3 separate regions of the Homo sapiens genome follow, and regions 2 and 3 are each linked to region 1. Evidence: promoter capture Hi-C in human tissues and cell types (Jung and others, 2019). All regions are on one chromosome and are shown on one strand. Each heading gives the region's core, a stretch centred on a gene start or on the middle of the fragment in contact. The rest is flanking DNA. Distances are from core to core; before and after follow the strand shown.

What was found. Contacts are between HindIII fragments. The study calls those that stand out against the background at their distance.
Region 2: a contact is called between a fragment that was not itself captured here and the fragment with the promoter of SV2C in region 1, in 2 of the 25 tissues and cell types used here (H1 embryonic stem cells and thymus).
Region 3: a contact is called between a fragment that was not itself captured here and the fragment with the promoter of SV2C in region 1, in 1 of the 25 tissues and cell types used here (H1 embryonic stem cells).

The regions. Positions count from the first base shown.
Region 1 is chr5:76,081,473-76,085,264 of GRCh38, forward strand. It overlaps SV2C (synaptic vesicle glycoprotein 2C), which reads left to right and starts at 1,911. Exons shown (of 13, transcript NM_014979.4): 1 at 1,911-2,040. SV2C-AS1 (SV2C antisense RNA 1) reads right to left here and starts at 1,945. Exons shown (of 2, transcript NR_183290.1): 1 at 1,447-1,945; 2 at 1-924. RefSeq lists an enhancer at 722-1,275. The HindIII fragment of the contact is 16,764 bases long and covers 1-3,792 here.
Region 2 is chr5:76,214,961-76,218,787 of GRCh38, forward strand. All of the region lies in intron 4 of SV2C (synaptic vesicle glycoprotein 2C), which reads left to right. Among named protein-coding and RNA genes, the nearest start is that of SV2C-AS2, 95 kb to the right of the region's middle. The HindIII fragment of the contact is 7,655 bases long and covers 1-3,827 here.
Region 3 is chr5:75,841,152-75,844,848 of GRCh38, forward strand. No RefSeq gene overlaps it. Among named protein-coding and RNA genes, the nearest start is that of POC5, 130 kb to the left of the region's middle. The HindIII fragment of the contact is 5,307 bases long and covers 1-3,697 here.

The DNA of each region.
Region 1 (3,792 bases), core at 661-3,160:
GTCATAGTAGCAGCACATTAATTTTAGCCTAAATAATTATTTAAATTATTTAACTATTTAAATTATTTAACTATTTAAATAATTATTTTACTAAGAAGAATCCACGAAATGAAAATGAGCACGTTCACTAATTTTCATATTGCCTGACCATCTCATAGCACCATGGTCACAGACTGCAAAGCCTCTCACCGGAACAAGACAGACCAGCAAGGAAGTGTAGGTTCAACAGCACATGAGAATCATAACTTTTAGTGCCAGAGTGTCTGAACCAGAGAGGAGGGAAAATGAGAGGCCAAGAGTTGTCTCCATTTTCTTCTCTTCACAGTATCCTGCATAGTGGCACAAATCGAACTGGAAAGCCCAAGCTAACAACACCGCCCTGGGCGAACCGCCTGTCTCCACCGGCTCCTCTGGGCAGGAGGCTCCAGCCTGGGGGTGCCTGACAGCTCTCCTTCCCCGGCGCCTGTATTATACATGTAACATTTATATTTCTATCCACACAGCGTTCATTCAGCCATCCATTCAATCACCCAGGCATATTTACACGGATGGAACACATTCGCGGAGAGATGTGTGTGTTTGAGTTCCAATCACTGCAGCCCGTATTGGCGCGGCGCTTTGTCTCGCTTTGGGTCACCACCACAGGAGCAACGATTTCGGGGACGGCACACGCCTGTGTGACCGCTTCCCACTCCACTTGGGTTCCGTGAGCGCGCGGAGCCGGAGGAGTCAGGGACGTGAGGATGCCCTACTTCCCGCAGCATCCGGATGGCAGGGTCTGCGTCGGAAGGCCCGGGAGGGCGACGCCCTCCACTGCTGCCGCGGGGTGGGTGCGCCAGGCCTGGGTGTGGCCTCACGGGAGCGAGTTTCTCTCCAGCCGCCTGGCCCACCGCTTTGGAACAGTGAAGCTCGAGTTGGGGTCTCCTGCACGCCAAGGGGAGAAATGTTTGTTTCTGACAACACAAGCAAAATTCTCTCTCCTGCACGCCAAGGGGAGAAATGTTTGTTTCTAACAACACAAGCAAAATTCTCTCTCTCTCTCCCTCTCTCTCTCTCTTCTCTCCTCTCTCTTTCTCCCTCCTCCTCCTTTCTTTCTTTCTCTTTTTCTTTCTTTCTTTCTTTCTTCCTCCTCCTCCTCTCTCTCTCTCTATCTCTCTCTCCACCCCCCCCCCCTCATATTTGGTTGTTTCCCCTCTAAGGGGCCACTTTCAATATCTGCCTGTGAGCCCAGCTGTCTGGCCCTATGTAGCATTGGGGAGACAGTAGACTTAACCCAGCGAAGTTTTCTTCTGTTTGCTCTTGCTGTGCCCAAGTTTCCTCTGGACTTGTCTTCCAGCGTCGGGGTGGGGGCTGGGGGAAGTAGGCAACCTAGCTCTGCCTGGTTGCTCCCTGGAAGCCAAGTCGAAGTGAACAAGTCAGTCCCAGGCCCGGAAATAGAATACAAACCCTCTTTTTGTCCGGTGCTAACAGAGTCCAGCAGTCAGAACTCCCTCGCGTCTCACGCTGGACCTGACCCGGGGCGCCGCCAAGTGCGCAACGCACAGTCACAGTTGGTGACTAATTAAGGACTGCCGCCCCTCTCCTTCACCTGCTACAAACTCAGAGCCCTGACTTCTCCAGAAGTACCTACCACTTGGAGGTGGCTCTCCTTCCCCGCCCCCTGCCCCAGTCCCACACCGCAGCAGCGCCTCAGCACCGCGACTTGCCGGAGCACCGCGAGTGGCGCGCGGGTCCCGCCTCCCCCGCGCGCCGTGACTCCCTGCGCACCGCTGGTACTCTCGCCACGCCGCCGCCCGGCACTGCAGCACCAGGGGGAGGAGGCAGGCGGAGGAGAGGAGGAGGACCGCAGCGTGCAAGCCGGGAGCCACTTTCCCGCCCCTCCTCTCGCCGCTGACACGCTCAGAGGAGTCACCACTCCGCGCGCTGCAGGCGAGAGTGGCAGACGGAGGCAGCCCGGGGAAGCGAGCCGGAGCGGCGCCCGCACTGAGGCGGCTGCAGTGCTGACACCACTCAGGGCAAGGGTGTCCGACGGCTGGAGCGGTGAGTGGGGGAGGTGAAGCGGGCATCCGCGGGGAGACTTTCCCCCGCTGCTGGATTTCTCTTCCCGACTGGTGGCCGGGCGCTGCAGCCTGGGGAAGTTTTTGCAGCCTTTCGGAAGCGCAACTTTGCCCCGCCTGCCCCCGGGGAAGCGGCTGCAGGTGCCCGCTGCTTTGTAGGCGCCTTTGTTGGAGAGGGACCAGGAAAGTAGGGGTAAAATAGATGCAGTGACCCCAGGGTTCGCTAGGGTAGGTCTGGGGACTGGGTCGCACTTTATCTGGGATTCCCAGAGGAGGTGGGTGGGCAGCAGCGGGGATGCAGGGGCCGCATCTGCAGCGACCGCCACGCTCTTTTTTGCTTGTGTGGTTTGACCGGCAGGGATAGGCAGATTCAAATCTAGCAGCCTAGAGCCCCGGGCTGGGTACCTGGACCTATACCTTCATAGCTGCCTTAGGCTCAACTTTTCGGCGGGGATCCCTCTGCAGACGTGCAGGTGGCGGGAGAGCAGAGGTAGCCGCAGTAAGTGCTGAGAGAGCCTGAAAGAAACACCATGAATTTTCAAACTCTCCCACATACATTCCCGAAGCGCCTGTCTGGCGTCTAAGAGAGAGCAAGAGAGGGCTGGAGAGCAGGGGAGCCCGCGGGGCTGAGGCTCTTTGTCAGCGCCTGCACTTCCTACGTTACAACGCCTTCATTCAGCAAAAACCTTTTGGGCGCCTGCTGTGCGCCAGGCCAGGCGAAGCAGACCCGAGGCTGTGAAGCTCAGAGGGGAGAGGGACCAATCGCAGTAAATAAGCTACCGAGGTAATCTTAGATGGCGATGAGGGCAGCAAAAGCCATCAGCCGACCCTCTGACCCTTTCTCTTAGTGGGCTTTTCCCCTTCCGCCTGGGTTCTAGAACTGGGAAGACTTTTCTCCAGAGCGTCGCGGGGAGCGCCCCGGGCTGGGCCCACGGGGACTGCGGAATACGGGGATGAACTTGGCTTGGGGCAGCCAGCACCCCACGGCAGATGAACAATCGGGAGCAGATCTGTGGGCGTGCGGGGACCTTAGGCGGCGCGCGGGGGCGGGGGGAGGGGCTGAGCCACGGGGGCTAGAGGTGCCGCCTGGACGGCCTGAGCTGGGGGCGCTCGCGTCACCTTCTACGTGTGCGAGTGATGCAAATGCAGACCCGCGAGGGGCGGGCGGGGGTGGCGGGCGGGGGCAGGCGACGGAGTCTCCGTCTGGGAGCGCGCGTGTGTGCGTCAAAAGCTCTGGGTTGATGGATGCCCCGCGGCGCGCCTGGCGCGGAGAGCGGCGACCCGGCGGGGCAGAGGGGGGCGGGAGGACTGCGGCGGCGCGGGGCGGCGAGGAAAGCCCCGCACGGCCTGGGCTGGCGGGCAGGCGGCTCCGCAGTGCGCCGCAGTGCCGGGAAGGAGCCGCAGCTACCGGGCGCTCCCCGGGGGACCGAGGAGATGAGGCGTCTTTTAAGGCTCATGAGAGCCTTAAGGAGATGAGACCGGGATGCCGTGATGGTCTCCTCTCCCGCTGAACCTAATCCCTTCATACTTAGCTGACTGCTAGCGCGGTAGCTTCCGTTTAATTCTTATCCTTAATTCTGAAGAATGTGGCATTAATCTCTCAGGCGTTCACTCATTTTCCATGGCAAGTTCCGAAAGGCCTCGTGCTCGTGGGAAGTTTTCATGTGAACGCCTAGGTGTTGAGGTTCGTGAGGTTCTGTAGTGCCAACCCGTTGCGCCACCATTCTGCAGGATT
Region 2 (3,827 bases), core at 1,302-3,801, 130 kb after region 1:
ACATACTCTTGTTTTACTTCTTTCTTTCTGATTTTGATTCCCTTTCTTTCTTTTTTTGCCTAATTGCTCTGGCTAGGACTTTCAGTACTATCCTGAATAGAAATGACAAGAGTCTTCCTAGTCTTAGAGGGAAAGCTTTTAGATTTTCACCATCGAGTATGTTAGCTGGGAGCTTGTCATTGATGGCCTTGATTATGTTAAGGTACATCAATAGTTTTTAAAGCTTCTGGGTGGTTCTAATGTGCAGCCAGGTTTGAGATTCTTCAGCTTCCTGTCCATGAAAGGCCCAATGGGTGACCTCAGAAGTTTGTTTTTCTGCTGGGACCCTAGAACTTGATGGTATGTATTGGGTGGGAGTGGGGGGATGTGAATGAGAATAAGGAGAACAGTGAGCCTGATCTGTTCAGTGTTTGAGTTTCCGTATTGTTGGTTTCATCCACGCAAAAACACTTTCCTGTCCATCTGGTTTAGAATCACACTTAAAAAGTAACTTTGACATCTAGATATCTCTTCTTTTCAGTGATGCATCTTTTAACTTTACCTAAAATAGACAAGGGGCTAAAAGTCTATCCACTTTCCCTGAAGCCTCTGAAAAAACTAAAGGCTTATATCTCTCCTCTGAAATCTGCGTTGTATAAATGATGCCACAGTCCACAGAAACAAGAGCGGGTCCGCCCCTGCTGCTCTGTCCTCTTTCACTGAGGAGGCCTTTGAGTGCCCACCACTCCCTGTGCATTGAGTTTGCACCCTGCAGAGAATGAACACAGGAGTGTAATAAAGTGACTCAGAGCCAGGACCTCAGCCTTCTCATATTAGTAATGGGCTTTGCTCTGGAGAGAAGGAATGGATAATTGGCATCCACATTGCAAGTGTATTTCAAATGATAAATAACACAGAGGCTCGTGGACAAAGGTGTTCGCTGTTTCTGGGTGTCGCCGTTTAGTAATTAGGGCAGAGCAGTCAGTTCACAAAGCCTGAGCCTGATGCTGTGAGACTGGAATTCTGGCCCCTGACAAGCCTCTGATGCAAAGTAGACCTTGAGTGGGTCACTAAGGATTCTGGAAGGAAATCTGGAAGGATTCTTGTGAAGTTAGACACTGGAATAAGGGATTGGATTGCTCTAAGGGCTAGTGAGTTAAGACATGGGCTGTGGCCAGGAGTTTTTGGTGGACAGTGGAGTCCACTCAGCCTGCTGAGACCTAGCTTTTGTACCAGTGTGGAATAATGATGGTGCTTTCTCTTCATATCACTGCTATCAGAGTTGAAATTTTCCCCGGAGACAGATGGTTGCTAACATCTGAAGGTTCCCAACATGAATGGACCTCACCCAATGCTGACAAGACCTTAGGAGGCAGAGTGCTTGGCTGTGGTCACACCAGCACCTTCCCTGCCACCACTCCATTCAGGAACTTCTGGGCCATCTGTGTCTCCCCCATGGCAAAGAGCAGTCCACTAGAACAAGGGAGGAGGAAGAGCAACAAACTGAGAAGGAAATGCCCTTGCCTCAAAAATCAGTGCCTGTAAGAGCTGAAAATAGGTATTTAGAGTTGGCTTGGCCGGGTGCAGTGCCTCACACCTGTAAACCCAGTGCTTTGGGAGGCTGAGGCAGGAGAATTGCCTAAAGCCAGGAGTTCGAGAAAATTTGGCTCTTCTTGACCTAACACCCGTTCTCAAGCCTAGGCCTTCTGACCCATAGTGGGAATTGGCTACTGGTTCAGAAATAAATAAGCAGTATCTTCAAGAACAGATAGGTCAGGTGTAAAGGTTCTCTTTCAGCCTTCCTGCCCTTCCTTTCTCTCTCCACACTCTGTAATAATCAGGACACATCAGCATTTAATGGAAGCCCCAGTACCTCAGGGGAAATGGGAACAGAGAGCTGAATCACAGGCACTTTCTATGTTGGCTGAGAGCTTTCATTAGGCCCAGGCTTTGGAATTGCTGCTAGACTGCGGCACTGTCCGCTCCATTAAACCCTCTGTCATCATTTTCCCTTTTAAATTCATGTGCGCATCAGATGAGGTGTTCTCCCCTGCTGTGTGCATTACAGTGTGTAGCAAAGGTGTTCAATTAGCTAAATGGGAAAGTTCTTGTTTTAGCCCGAAAGGCCACAGCTCTGAAAGCCCACAGCACACTGGGCCTCATCTAGCCCCCAGAATAGCCCCATGGCCTCTATCTGGCTAGCCCTGCACTGCAGATGTTATAGGGTCAAACTTGGGGCTCCCATAAACGTCAGACTTACCCCACCCTACGTCTCCAGCCATGATGCGATGTCCAGGCTTAAAAATACATATATTCCCAAGGTTGTCCAAATTACCAAAACATCCCTACTTCCTTTGGCTGGCAGGAGAGGCAATAGCTATCTAATTGAAGAAGGAAGCAGGGAAGGATTCCTGATTCCTCAACCAGACAGATATTCAACAAGAAGGAAGAAGAAAGTCAGCTTCCTTGTTCACAAGAAGGAATGCACTGTGGCCAAGGGAAAGAGGTATAAAGTGAGAGGTATTTTGAGTCTCAGACCTGCTACTTCTGTGAGCTCTGTCAAAGCTTTTCAGTCTGATCCAGCCCACTCTCCTAGTCAGCATTGTAGTAAGGATTAAGCAAAATAATCTCGTTAGAATACCCAGTGTGTATTTGATGCTCAAAAATGGTAGCTCTTGTTGCTATCAGGTCATCCTACATGGGATACCCAGATTGCCAGAGCAGCCCAAATGTGAGCTACATGAAAAAAGAGGGAGAAGGAACTAAAAAGCATAAACCCTGCCTAAAGTTTGAGATTAGAGAAGTCAGAGAAAAGAAAAAAAAAAGGATAGAAGCTAAGATAAAAGAGAACCAAGGTATTAAAACAATACTGTAAAATCTTGATGACTTTTTACCCAATAAATCAGAATCCTCCATTTTTCTGTTGGGTAATTTAATATTCAAGGGGCATGTACTATATAAAGACCCATTTTCAAGGCCATGGTGCTATCGTTCCCAGATAGAAATAACGAGAGTCTGACAACTCTAACCTGTGAGCATCAACTACCAGCTGATTCTGCGGGTTATATGGGCAGCACCAGAGCCAAGCTCTATCGCAGCACCAAGATGTCAGAGATCCTGGAGACAGGCAGTCAGTGCAATTGTTAACAGCATGGGCTTAGAGGGAAGGCCCTACTTCCAAGCCACCTCTGCCCTCTCTAGCTTTGTCATCTTTAGGACAGTAACCTAGGCTCTCTGGTCCTCTGTTTCCTCATCTATAAAACAGGGATAATAATAGTATGACCTAATACAATTGCTGTACGATCACATTACTGGGTATATACCCAAAGGATTATAAATCATTCTACCATAAAGACACATGCACATGTATGTTTATTGCAGCACTATTTATAATAGCAAAGACTTGGAACACACCCAAATGCCCATCAATGGTAGACTAGATAAAGAAAATGTGGCATATATACAACATGGAATACTATGCAGCCATAAAAAATAATGAGCTCATGTCCTTTGCAGGGGCATGGATGAAGCTAGAAACCATCATTCTCAGCATACTAACACAGGAACAGAAAACCAAATACCACATGTTCTCACTCATAAGTGGGAGTTGAACAATGAGAACACATGGACACAGGGAGGGGAACATCATACACCAAGGCCTGTTGGTTGAGGGAGGCAAGGGGAGGGAGAGCATTAGGACCTAATGCATGTGGGGCTTTAAACCTAGATGATGGGTTGATAGGTGCAGCAAATCACCATGGCATATGTATAACTATATAACAAACCTGTACATTCCACACACATATCCCAGAACTCAAAGTAAAATAAAATAAAATAATACAATTGCT
Region 3 (3,697 bases), core at 1,074-3,573, 240 kb before region 1:
TTTTTGTGTAAGGTGTAAGGAAGGGATCCAGTTTCAGCTTTCTACATATGGCTAGCCAGTTTTCCCAGCACCATTTTTTTTTATTATACTTTAAGTTTTAGGGTACATGTGTACAATGTGGTTTGTTACGTGTGTATACATGTGCCATGTTGGTGTGCTGCACCTAGTAACTCGTCATTTAACATTAGGTATATCTCCTAATGCTATCCCTTCCCCCTCCCCCGACCCCATAACAGGCCCTGGTCTGTGATGTTCCCCTTCCTGTGTCCATGTGTTCTCATTGTTCAATTCCCACCTATGAGTGAGAACATGCGGTGTTTGGTTTTTTTGCTGAGAATGATGGTTCTTATAGTATGCTACACAATGTAACTTTGAGATGTCTAATGATACACTGATGCGAACCATTTTCTTCTATCTGAAAATTTTAGGTCTTTTCTTTCTCCCCTGCGTGCTGAAGTATTACCATAATGTGCCTTGGTGAGAGTCATTTTTATTCATTTTGCTGTGTACTGTGTGGACCTTTTCAAACTGGCGCTCATGTCCTTCAGGTCTGGGATGTTTTTACGTGCGTGCTATTTTTTGAAGATATTCTCTTGCCCATTTCTTCTGTTTTCTTTTCCTGGAACTCTTAATAATTAAACTGGATGCTGAACTTCCTCTAACTTTCTTTTTTTCCTACCACTATTTTCCATCTCTTTGTCTTTTTTGCTTTTACTTTCTAGATTTCCTTAACTTTATCTTCTAATTGTGGGATTTCATTTAAAAAGTATATATCCGTACTTTAATTTTAAAAACTTCTTTTCTCGAAATGTCCCTTTTTTAATTGACTTCTGTTTTTATGAAGGTAATGCTTTATTATCTCACTGATTTTTGCTCCTAGTCTAATGCCTTAAATTTATTTTTCTTATATTTATACTGACTAGGCCTACCAATATAATATTATTATTATTATTAATTTTTAATTAACAAATAAAGATATATATTTATGTATACAGTGTGTTTTGAAATACATGTACATTGTGGAATGGCTAAATTTAGATAATTGACATGTGCATTTCTCATATGCATTTTTGTGTGCAATGAGAACACTTGAAATCTGCTTAAAATTAGTAATCAAGTATACAATATATTGTTATTTATTATAGTCACAATGTTGTACAGTAGAGCTCTTGAACTCATTCTTCCTAACTGAAATTTTATATTCTTTGAACAACATCTCTCTAAACCCTTATCTCTCCACACTCCCAGCCCCTCGTAACTACTGCTCTACTCTGCTTCTATGAGCTCAACTTTTTAGATTCCTATAAGTGAAATCATGTGGTATTTGTCATTCTGTGCCTGATTTAGCATCATGCTCTCCAGATTCATCTGTATTCAGGCACCTGTTGTTCTTCATGCTCTGACTGAATGGGCTGGTGGAGTTCAGTGGTGTCCTATCTATTCCTTATAAAGATTGTCACAGTCCTTTTGCTTTCAGACCAGCTTAAACTGTTGGACTCAGTGATATCTAGTTTATTCAATTCTTGAGAATTCTCAAGGTTCTGTAACTTCTTAACTGTTTGGCGTATAATTAGCTTACTTCTTATTAGATATCCTATTATAGACTCAAGCTTCATCTCTCTTTGGTCTATGAGGCCACTTCTCATTTATTGCTTTTCAGTTTCTAGATTTTGTTGACATCTCTCATATGCTGTCATTATTTCTCTTTTTTGTGGATTTATAGTTTTAAATTCCTTTTCCTTTTATTTTAGTGGGATTTTAGAAGGTAACAAGGAAAAAACAATTATACTGAGTCCAGCAAGCTTACCCATAAATTTATTTTAATTAATAATTCTATTTTAATTGAGAAAAATGAAATAAAAGAAGTGATTAGTAAAGTTATAATTGGGTTAATTTATTTGGGTAATTCAACTTAAAAAATAATTTTTTTATTAATAGTAAAGTGATGAGGAAAAATGAACATATTGCTTTAGCTATTAGATATTTCACTTTACATTTTCTTTTCATGATTTTAAAGATTATAATGACAACAAAAATTATAATACAAGGGAAAAATGCAGACTACAAATTTGTAAATACTGCTTGATCACACATATGTAAATCTTGAGTTTCAGGATGAAAAGATAGATTTTATGTTCCCTTTGTATGCCAATAAAAATAGTTATTATAAATATTCTTTACTTTTCATTTGTAGTATTCAGGGTGCTTTGATGTTTACCAGTGGTCATTTTGAGCCCATAAAATGGTAAGAAGTAGCTCTGAATGGGAGCACGGAAAAAGGAGAACAAAGAAATAGGCTAGACACCACAGAAAACTCTGGACTCCGAGATAGGCAAGCAGCTTTTGAAGTGGTCCTTGACATTTTTCCTGGCGCTATAACTGGTCATGACTTTGGAAAGTCTTTCTATTAGCAGATGACGAGCATATTTATAGTTGTAAATGTCAGACAGGCCATGTTGGGAGTGGGCAGCTCTGGAACTGTGTATGTGGGAGGAAGGGTATTTTTTTCTCCTTGTAGTTTTTTGTGTTCTCCAAATTTTCTATAAAAATCATCTATTAACTGCCAGTGGAGAGTTTAAGAGATGTTCAATAGATGGGGTCAACAGGATGCAGATGTGTGTAGGACATAAAGAAGAGGAAGAAGGACCCTGGGTTCTGGGCAGGCAAGGGATGTAGTGCTCTGAACTGGCCAATGTAGTTCCTTCTAAGGGAGCTATCCCTGCTTCCAGTCCCTAACAGAAGAGAGGCCACAGGTGCACCTATGATCCCACCAGCCTTGGGCATAGTTGATTAGAATAGGTATGAGCTTTGGCCCAGAACTAAACTTTGACAAATTTCTTTGACACTCCTCTCTTTGAAAGGTGGATATATCTCCTCCAACTCCTTGAATCTGAGCTGAGTTTAGTGAGCAGCTGACTGCTAAGAGTATGGTGGAAGTGATGCCACGTGACTTACAAGGCTAGGTCAAAAAAGGCAATGCATCTTTTGCTTGGCTCACTGGAACAGTCACGTTGGAACCTTGGGCCACCATGTAAGAATTTCTGTCATCTGAGGCCATCATCCTGGGATGAAGCCCAAAGTAGTGTACATGGAGAGACCCTGCAGAGAGCCGAGAACCCTTGAAACCTCAGAGGAAAGAGAGGTGCCTAGCCAGCCCCCAGCTCTTTCAGCAGTTATAGTCTTCCAGCTCCAGCCTTTGACTACAGCTATGTGGCAGACTCTGAACCAGAACTACCTGGCTGAATGCTTCTCAAATCCTTGACTCCCAGAAACAGGAAAAAAAAAAAAAAAAAGATCATTGTTTTAAACCACTGAAGTGTGTAGTTTTGTGACGCAGCTATAGGTAATTGACTTATGGTACCAAAATATTTTCCAATTGTCTACTGCTATATAACAAACTATCCCAGAACTTAGGGTATAAAGCATGCATTTTATTATGCCCACACATGCTGTATATCAAGAATTCAGACAGGCACAATAAGCATGGCTTGTCGCTGCTCCATGATATCTGATGCATCAGCTGGAAAGACTCAAAGGCTGGGAGTGATCGACTGGGGACTGTTGTCCTCTGCAGATAGCTTTACTCACACATGTCCGGTGGTTGATGCTGGCTGTTTTCTGGGACCTCCGCTGGAACAGTCAGCCACAGCCCCTACCTGGCCTCTTTGTGTGGCCTGGGCTTCTTCATAGCCGGTGG